Regions from separate parts of the Homo sapiens genome. Here regions 2 and 3 are each linked to region 1. Evidence: promoter capture Hi-C in 16 types of primary human blood cells and fetal thymus (Javierre and others, 2016). All regions are on one chromosome and are shown on one strand. The core of a region is centred on a gene start or on the middle of the fragment in contact, and the rest is flanking DNA. Distances in the headings are between cores, read along the strand shown. Region 1 holds the start of CLDND1 (claudin domain containing 1). Region 2 has its middle 12 kb from the start of CMSS1. Region 3 holds the start of HP09053 (a long non-coding RNA gene).

Region 1 (2,811 bases), core at 250-2,749:
CGTGTTAGCCAGGATGGTCTCGATCTCCCGACCTCGTGATCTGCCGCCTCGGCCTCCCAAAGTGCTGGGATTACAGGCGTGAGCCACCATGCCCGGCGGAAAATAGGGGATTTCTAATGAAGGCCAATGGATGAAGACATTTCCTGGAGTATAAGGGCATTTATGTGTCTTACTACACATTGACAATTTGCCTGTGCCTCTCCATCACTTTCTCTAGTTGGTGCCTCTGACAAATTTTTTTTTGATTATATGCTGTATATGAAAATCCAGAGTCATGTTTGAATATATTTGGCTACTACCTTATTATGTGCTGCATATGAATATCAGTTTCACCCACTCAGGTCAAAGAAATGTAAGTACAGATAGAGAAACATATCATGCCTTTAATCTGTCAAAGTGGTAGAAATTTAATATCAACTTGCAGCTCCCATCTTTCTCCTATGCTAAATTACAAGGCATTAGGGGACAGAGTGGGGGTTTGAGAGCCCCTCTGGTCCTTGAGTCAGCTTTCTCTGTCGGTTACTGTTGAGAAATCCACCATTTGCTGGTCCCAGGCCACGTTAATAGTTCCACTCATGTTATTGTTAAGATGTCCCTGCTTCCTGTCCATGAATTTCTGTGTTAAACCTGAGGGTTCAGAATCATTGTTGCCCCTGTGCCACACATCATCTGCAATCTCCAATGCTGTCCATGACCTTATCTGCTTGAGTGATGTTCCCCAAATTTCAGTCTTTTTCCTACTATACCCACAATTTTTTATTCATTTTTTGACATATCTGGTATCCTCAGTATTATTAACTTAATAGTTTTTAAAATAAGTGAAAAGAATTTAAAAGGAACAACATTGCTGCAATAGAAAACTAGTATCACTTGTCATAAAAAGAAGGCAGCTACAAACACATTTTATGAAACCCAAATAATATCATTACATTCTTGATGGATACTGTCTGCCAGGTCACATACTTCTTAGCCTAAACTTATGCAATAAAACCAGAAGGATGCTCTGCTCCAATGGGAGGGATTCTGGGAGAGGGAAATAAAATGGGTCAACGTTTCACAAGTAGAATCCCATTTTTGTTCATTTATACTTAGATCTAGAGGCAGGGTGGTGTGATAGGGAAAGCACAGGCCTAAAAGTCAGATCTAAGTTATACAAGTCACGGTCATTGACTCGAGATGACCGGAAACAGGCCCGCTTTACTTTCTGGACCATTCTCCCTTCCTCCCTAAAATGCAAGAATCCAACAGCCTAGACTTCCCTTCTGCGTACCGGCTTGCCCTGAGGAGCTGAACTACATCTCCCACAATGCGCCGCGCGCGGCGCCAGGAATGCCTATCGCCGCCTCAGACAGCTTTCAGTCTGTCCCTCCTACAACTCCCACAAGGCCCCTCGGCCCCGGGCCGCGGCCCGGCCCGGAGTGGGGGCGGGCGGAGGCGCGGGAGTTATGGAGGGGGCGGGCTCTGCAGGGAAGTGCGTCAGAGGAGGCGCGGGGAGAGTAGGGTGCTGTGGTCTGAGCTAGAGGGTGAAGCTGGCGGAGCAGGAGGATGGGCGGTGAGTGAGCGGGACCTGCGTCGCCGGGCAGGGGTCGCGTCGCGGTTCCATGTTCCCGGCGGTTTGAAGAGGGGCCCCCTTCCCGGGCGTGGTCGGGCTGGGCGGGTTCCGAGCGGCGGATTTGTCCCAGGGCCGAGCCCTCTAGGGCGGGGCCTGGTCGGGTACCGGGGGACCCTGGCCCGGGGCCGAGCACGGCTGCCCCGCCCCAGCCCTGGCCTTCTCCGGCCCCGCCGTGAGGCCCAGGAGGTGGCTGCTGCAGGCGTCCGGCTTGGACGAACCGCCGTTCCCAGTGCTGGGACCCTTTAAGGTCATTTGAGAGCACCAGGATGAAGGGGGGATTTTTAAAAAATCAAAATACAAATCCAACTTTTTGAGTTTTCGTTGTCATTGCTCTTATCTTTCCTGAGTCACTTCCCATTTTCCAAACTCAGCAACCCCAGTTTGCGAGTCTGTTTTCATGAACCTTTGTAAGGTGTTTGGTGCGGTCACGGTGTATACTTGCCGTGTAGTATTTGACTCAGCGCGATCTGCCTTGAGTCATTTTACCGCGGCCATTTACTACTGCCGTTGAGCCCTGTCCACGCCTTGGGAGTGTTGATATGTTGAGAGTTTTCTGTCTGGCTGAGGAGGGATCATTTAGTTTTTGCGGACGTATGTTGCACTGAGGATTTAGGGAGAGAGCAAGATTTCTGTTGAGGAGGTTCAGAAGTATAAGGAATCGGGAGAGTAGATAGGAGTGAAGCATTTGGCAGCGTAAAGAAGCTTGGCTTAGCTTTAATGGATTAGGGAGAGATTGCTATCTAGCATTATTACATGTTATTGTTCTCTTTGCTATTTTATACACCTAGAACAACCTTTCCCTCGGGGTTAACAAACATCTTCAACTCTGTTTTCTGTATGGCTCCTGACTCTTACCTTTGTTTTAGGAGGCTTCCCTCTTCAGAGGAAACTGGGAGAAGCCAATTTCCACTGCTTCTTTTTCCTGTGCCTTTTTAACACTCAAACCCAGAACACTTAATCCTCTGCAGCTCGTGCAAAAATTCAGTCTGTAATTTAAAATGTGTGCACGGTACACTGCTGACCATGGGCATGTCTATTGTTTGTATCTGTAATGTGTATGTCCATTTCAGTGTTGTCTGTTTTAGTATGCAGGTGATAGACTAGAGAACAAGACCTCTGTCTCCGTAGCATCCTGGGTATGTGAGCATTCAATAAGTACTTTTATGAGAATGAGTTTTGTTTTAAGCTTAATTAAAAAC
Region 2 (2,932 bases), core at 329-2,828, 1.3 Mb before region 1:
TTTAGTTTTACTTTTTAACATCATTTTTTGAAATTGTAAAATATACATAATATAAAATTTATTATCTTAACCATTTTTAAGTATATTAAGTACAGTTTAGTTCAGTGGCATTACGTACATTCACATTGTTGTGCAACCATCACCACCATTCATCCTCAGAACTCTTTTTATCTTGCAAAACTGAAACTCTGTGCCCATTATACAAAAACCCCCCTCACTCGAGCCACTGGCAACCACCATTCTGCTTGCTACCTCTATGAATTTGACTACTCTAGGTACTGCATATAAGTACAGTCATACAATATTTGTTATTTTGTGACTGGCATAATGTCCTCAAGGTTCATCCATGTTATAGCATGTGTCAAAATATTCTTCCTTTTTAAGGCTGAATAATAGTCCATTGCATTATAGGCCACATTTTGTTTATTCATTCATCCATTAGTGGCCTCTTGGGTTAATTCCACCTTTTAGATATTGTGAATAATGCTGCTATGAACATGAATATACACATGTATGTTTGAGTTCATGCTTTCAATTCTTTTGGGTATATACCAGAAGTGGAAATGCTTGATCATATGGTAACTCTATTTTTAATTTTTTGAGAAACCACCATACTGTTTTTCACAGTGGTCCAGTTTCACATTCCCCCCAAGCAGTGCACAAGGGTTCCAGTTTCTCCACATCCTTGCCAATACTTGTTATTATCTGGTTTTTGTTTGTTTTGATAGTAGTCTTCCTAATAAGTATGAGGTAGGTCCCTTTCCTTTTCAAAACCTGCTGCCTTTATATATTCTAAGGGATGGGAATGTCACCATGACATCTGTCATAGTCTTTTTGTAGCTGACTATATCTGTTGTCTCTGGTAAGCACAATAATCAAGAAACAACAGAGAGCCCTGTCATCTCCTGAACCCTCACTGGCAGTTGTTTGCTTCTTAGATAGCTAAGAACTTTTGTCTCCTTCCTTGAGGAGGCGATCTGGCATAATACCTGAGAGCATGGACTGTGAAGCCAGATATCTGCATTAAAATCATGGCATTGTCATTTATTAGATCTTGGACAAGTTACTATGTCTCTGCTTCTTGTCTTGTCTTTTCTCTCTCTTTCTTTCTGTCTTTCTCTCTTCCTTTCTTTCTTTCTTTTTTTTTCCCCCAGGGTCTCACTCTGTTGCCTAGGCTGGAGTGCAGGCACAGTCATAGCTCACTGAAGGTTTGAACTCCTAGGCTCAAGGGATCCTTCCTCCCCAGCCTCCCAAGTAGCTGGTACTACAGGTGCACACCACCACACTGGCTAATTTTTAAATATTTTTTGTAGAGACAGGGTCTTACTATGTTACCCAGGCTGGTCTTGAACTCTGGGGCTCAAGTCATCCTTGTGCCTTCGCCTCCCAAAATGCTGGGATTACCAGTGTGAGCCACCATGCCCAGTGCCTCCATTTCTTTAGCTGTAAAATGGAGCTAATAATAGAGTTATTATGAGGAGTAACTAAGTCAATACATAAAAACATTTAAAGCAGTTTGTGGCACATGGTTGGCACTCACTAAATGGTAGCAGTTGTTACCCCTCTGGAAGCTCCCTGAGGCCTCCCCAGAATCTAATGCCCCAGTGCTTCCTGTACAGCCTGCAGAACTGTGAGTCAATTAAATCTCTTTACTTTGTAGATTACCCAGTCTCAGGTATTTCTTGATAGCAGTGCAAGAACAGACTAATTCAGAAAATTGATACTGAAGAGTAGGGCATTGCTATAAAGATACCTGAAAATGTGAAATCAGCTTTGGAACTGGGTAACAGGCAGAGGTTTGAACAATTTGGTGGGCTCAGAAGAAGACAGGAAGATGAGGGAAAATTTGGAAATTCTCAGAGACTTGTTAAACTGTTATGACCAAAATGCTGTTAATGATATGGACAATGAGGTCCAGGGTAATGAGATCTCAGATGAAAGTGAGGAACTTATTGGGAACTGGAGCAAAGGTTACTTTTGTTATGTGTTAGCAAAGAACCTGGTGGCATTGTACCCCTGCCCTAGGAATCTATGGAACTTTGAACTTGAGAGTGATGATTTGGGGTATCTGGCAGAAGAAATTTCTAAGCACCAATGTGTTGAAGATGTGGCCTGGCTGCTTCTAACAACCTATGCTAATAATGTATGAGCAAAGAAAGGACATAAAACTAGAACTTACGTTTAAAGGGGAAGCAAAACATAAACGTTTGAAAAATTTGCAAACTAGTCATGTGGTAGAGAAGAAAAGCCCATTTTCCGGGGAGCAGTTCAGACTGGCTGCAGAAATTTGTATAGCTAAAAGGAAGGCACATGCTGATAGCCATGACAATGGGGGAAATGCCTCCAAGGCATTTCAGAGATCTTTGTGGCAGCCCCTCCCATCACAGGCCTGGAGGCCTGGGAGGACAGAATGGTTTTGTGGGCCTCACTTAGAGCCTGACTACCCTGTGCAGGCTTGGGACACTGCTCCCTGCATCCCAGCCATTCTCGCTCCAGCTGTGGCTCAAAGGGGCCCAGGTACAGCTTGGGCCACTGCTTCAGAAGGTGCAAACCATAAGCCTTGGTGGTTTCCACATGCTGTTAAGCCTGTGGGTATGCAGAGTGCAAGAGTTGAGGCTTGGGAACCTCCACCTGGATTTCAGAGGATGTGTGGAAAAGCCTGGATGTCCAGACAGTAGCCTGCTGAAGGGGCAGAGCCCTCATGGAGAACCCCTACCAGGGCATTGCAGAGGGGAAACGTGGGACTGTAGCTCCCACACAGAGTCTCCACTGGAGTGTTGCCTAGTGAAGCTGTGAGAAGAGGGCCACCTTCCTCAAGACTCTGGAATGGTAGATACACTAACAGCTTGCACCTGTTGCCTGGAAGAGCTACAAGCACTCAACATCAGCCTTTGAGAGCAGCTCTGGGAGCTGAACCCTGCAAAGCTGTAGG
Region 3 (2,936 bases), core at 224-2,723, 1.3 Mb before region 1:
TAAAATGATATTACAACAAAAATATTTACAAAGCTCATTTCAGCAATCTCAAAAAGAATAAGCACATTGATTCTAGGTGACAAAAGCTGTCACCAGTAAAAATTACAGGCTTATTTACAAAGAGTCTCTTGTCCTCTTTCCAAACGTAATTTATAAAATTAAATCCAAATATGGTTACAATAAAATGTTAGACACAGTTTTACAAGGACTACTAATGTAATTTTGAAAAGAGAAAAGCGGCATTTGCCAAATCTGTCAAAAGCCTGGACAGGAGTTTGACAAATCTGCCAGCAGATCAAGGTTCTTTTGATAAAGATCTCCTAGGTTGAGGTCTTCAAGGTGTGACTACGAAATATTAATAATTAATTGGTTAACTAACAAATACTTAATGAGTGCCTTCGCTGTATCCAGATACTACTCTAGGCCCTGAAACTAAAGCAAACAAGACAAACAAAATACCTGCTCACATGGAGCTCTTACAGTCTACTGCTGGGAAAAAGTAATTAATTTAACAAGGAAAAATAATAGTTGGTGCTAAGTGCTCTGCTGAGAATTATAATAACATAATAATTTAATAGATATTGTGATAATGTAATAGAGCACCTAGATAGTTACTCTAGACTGCCTGATCAGGAAGCGCCACTCTGAGTAGGTGACGTTTGAACTGAGTACTTAATGTTAAGACAGAGCCAGCTGGCCGGGCCTGGTGGCTCATGCCTGTAATCCCAGTGTTTTGGGAGGCTGAGGCGGGCGGATCAAGAGCTCAGGAGTTCGAGATCAGCCTGGTCAACATGGTGAAATCCCGTCTCTGCTAAATATACAAAAGTTAGCTGGGTGTGGTGGCAGGCGCCTGTAATCCCAGCTACTCAGAAGGCTGAGACAGGAGAATCATTTGAACTCAGGAGGTGGAGGATGCAGTGAGCTGAGATCGCACCACTGCACTCTAGCCTGGGTGACAGGGCGAGACTCCAGCTCAAAAAAAAAAAAAAAGAAAGAAAGAAAGCCAGCCAATCAGAAGGACAGGACAGAAAGGAAAAGAACAGCTAACACAAACGGCTAAGTAAGACAGAATGAGTGTGGCCTACTGAGGAACAGAATGAAGGCTGGTGTGGGTGGGGCAGCATAAACTATAGGGGAGTAAATAGTAGAAGACCTGGTGGCCACCAGCCATGGTAAGTAATCTGAATTTCATTCTATGTGCCAGGGAAAAAGCTATTGGAAGATTTAAGCAGGAAAGTGGCCTGACTTCTTTTCAAAAGGCCTCTAGCTGGTGAGTGAGGGACAAGGTGGAAACTCTGAGCCCTGTTAGAAGCTTATGGCAGTAAGGATGAAAATGTATACTCCAATGGAGGCAGAGCGAAGAAAAATGCAAAGAAAGAATCAGGATATGTTTTCGAGGTAGTGACAACAGGACTTGATGGATGAGATATAGGGGTGAAAAAAATAAATAAATCAGAATACTGCTAGGCCTTTGTGAAATTGGGTAGTTGGTGGTTTAATTTATGGAGACAGGAAAGTTTGGAGAAAAAGCAGGTTTGGAGAATAATTCAGTAGCTGGGTCTTGTTTACATTTGACATCCCTATTAAATAACTAAGTAAAGATTTAAAGAAGGCAGCCACATATGTTAAGCTTTGAGCTCCAGGATCAGGTTTGAGTTACTGGCAGAAATGGTTCTCAAAGCCCAAATGGAAAAGCTGCTTATTTGTAGCTCCAAGTAACCAGTGTTCTTTAAAAGAGTAAACTTTGGAAAACTAATAGACACAATTTCATAATGATATATAAACAAAAGACTTTCTAAATTATGAGTCTCTTTAAGCCGATAACAGATTATTCCTTTAGAGATGAGATTCTTACCACTGATAATGAGAATGCGAAATATAAGCACACAGGCTCTGGTTTCAGACTGCCTGCATATGAATCACAGCTCCCCTATTTACCAATTAAATAGATAGTATTGGGTGAATTAAATTAAATAGTATTAAGTAAATCACTTAATTTCTCAGTGTCTCAACTTCCTCATCAGTAAAATAAAGATAACAACAGTAACTACCGCTGGTGTACTTGGGAAGATTAAATTAACTAGAACATGTAAAGCAATCAAAACAGCATCTGGCAGGTAGTTAAGTGCTCAACAAATGCAAGCTGGTATTATTACTATTATTATTATTATCATTATTATTTTGAGATGGAGTTTTGTTCTTATTGCCCAGGCTGGAGTGCAGTGGCACGACCTCGGCTCACTGCAACCCCCGCCTCCTGGGTTCAAGCAATTCTCCTGCCTCAGTCTCCTGAGTAGCTGGGATTACAGGTGCGTGCCACCACGCCCAGCTAATTTTTTGTAGTTTTAGTAGAGACAGGGTTTCATCACATTGGCCAGGCTGTTCTCAAACTCCTGACCTCAGGTGATCCACCTGCCTCAGCCTCCCAAAGTGTAGGGACTACAGGCGTGAGCCACTGCGCCTGGCCGCAAGCTGGTATTATTACCTGCAGTCTCCTGGCACTGTACATAGCAGTGTCTTAACACTTCAGTTTTCTAGTTAGGTGCTTGGGAAGAGATGTCATCAAAGATTCAGAATGAGTTGGGGAGGCATATGAAAGACCCTCCTTAAAAGACATGGAGGCTCAATGTTACAGACTGCTAAGAACATGCTCTTTAAAAATAACCTATCTGTATGCCAGTTATTCCTAAATCTGTATCTCAGCCTGGATCTGGCCCTGGGGCTCCAGACTCACATACTTAGCTGCCTACTGGGTACTCGACTTGGTAATTTAATAGGTATGTCATTGAAATAAAAAGGGAAAGCAATTAGTATTCTCTTCATCTTCAGTGAGTAAATGATCAAGTAACATTTTCTTTTTTCTTTTTTTTGAGACAGAGTCTCAGTCTGTAGCACAGGCTGGAGTGCAGTGGTGCGATCTTGGCTCGTCGCAAGCT

Evidence for each region. Contacts are between HindIII fragments. The CHiCAGO score rates a contact against its expected background, and 5 or more counts as called.
Region 2: a contact is called between a fragment that was not itself captured here and the fragment with the promoter of CLDND1 in region 1, in 4 of 17 cell types (total B cells, total CD4 T cells, naive B cells and 1 more). The highest score is 12.0, in total B cells.
Region 3: a fragment that was not itself captured here is called in contact with the fragment with the promoter of CLDND1 in region 1 in 7 of 17 cell types (total B cells, total CD8 T cells, naive CD4 T cells and 4 more); the score reaches 11.5 in total B cells.

The regions. Positions count from the first base shown.
Region 1 is chr3:98,521,590-98,524,400 of GRCh38, reverse strand. CLDND1 (claudin domain containing 1) reads left to right here and starts at 1,499. Exons shown (of 5, transcript NM_001040181.2): 1 at 1,499-1,552. CLDND1-AS1 (CLDND1 antisense RNA 1) reads right to left here and starts at 1,831. Exons shown (of 2, transcript NR_198998.1): 1 at 1,568-1,831. RefSeq lists an enhancer at 1-50 and silencers at 1,253-1,892, 1,943-2,052. The HindIII fragment of the contact is 2,905 bases long and covers 1-2,316 here.
Region 2 is chr3:99,804,845-99,807,776 of GRCh38, reverse strand. No RefSeq gene overlaps it. Among named protein-coding and RNA genes, the nearest start is that of CMSS1, 12 kb to the left of the region's middle. The HindIII fragment of the contact is 4,083 bases long and covers 1-2,932 here.
Region 3 is chr3:99,821,980-99,824,915 of GRCh38, reverse strand. The region is part of intron 1 of CMSS1 (cms1 ribosomal small subunit homolog); the gene reads right to left. HP09053 (a long non-coding RNA gene) reads left to right here and starts at 1,051. Exons shown (of 3, transcript NR_110821.1): 1 at 1,051-1,172. All of the region lies in intron 1 of LOC105374010 (a long non-coding RNA gene), which reads right to left. The HindIII fragment of the contact is 318 bases long and covers 1,315-1,632 here.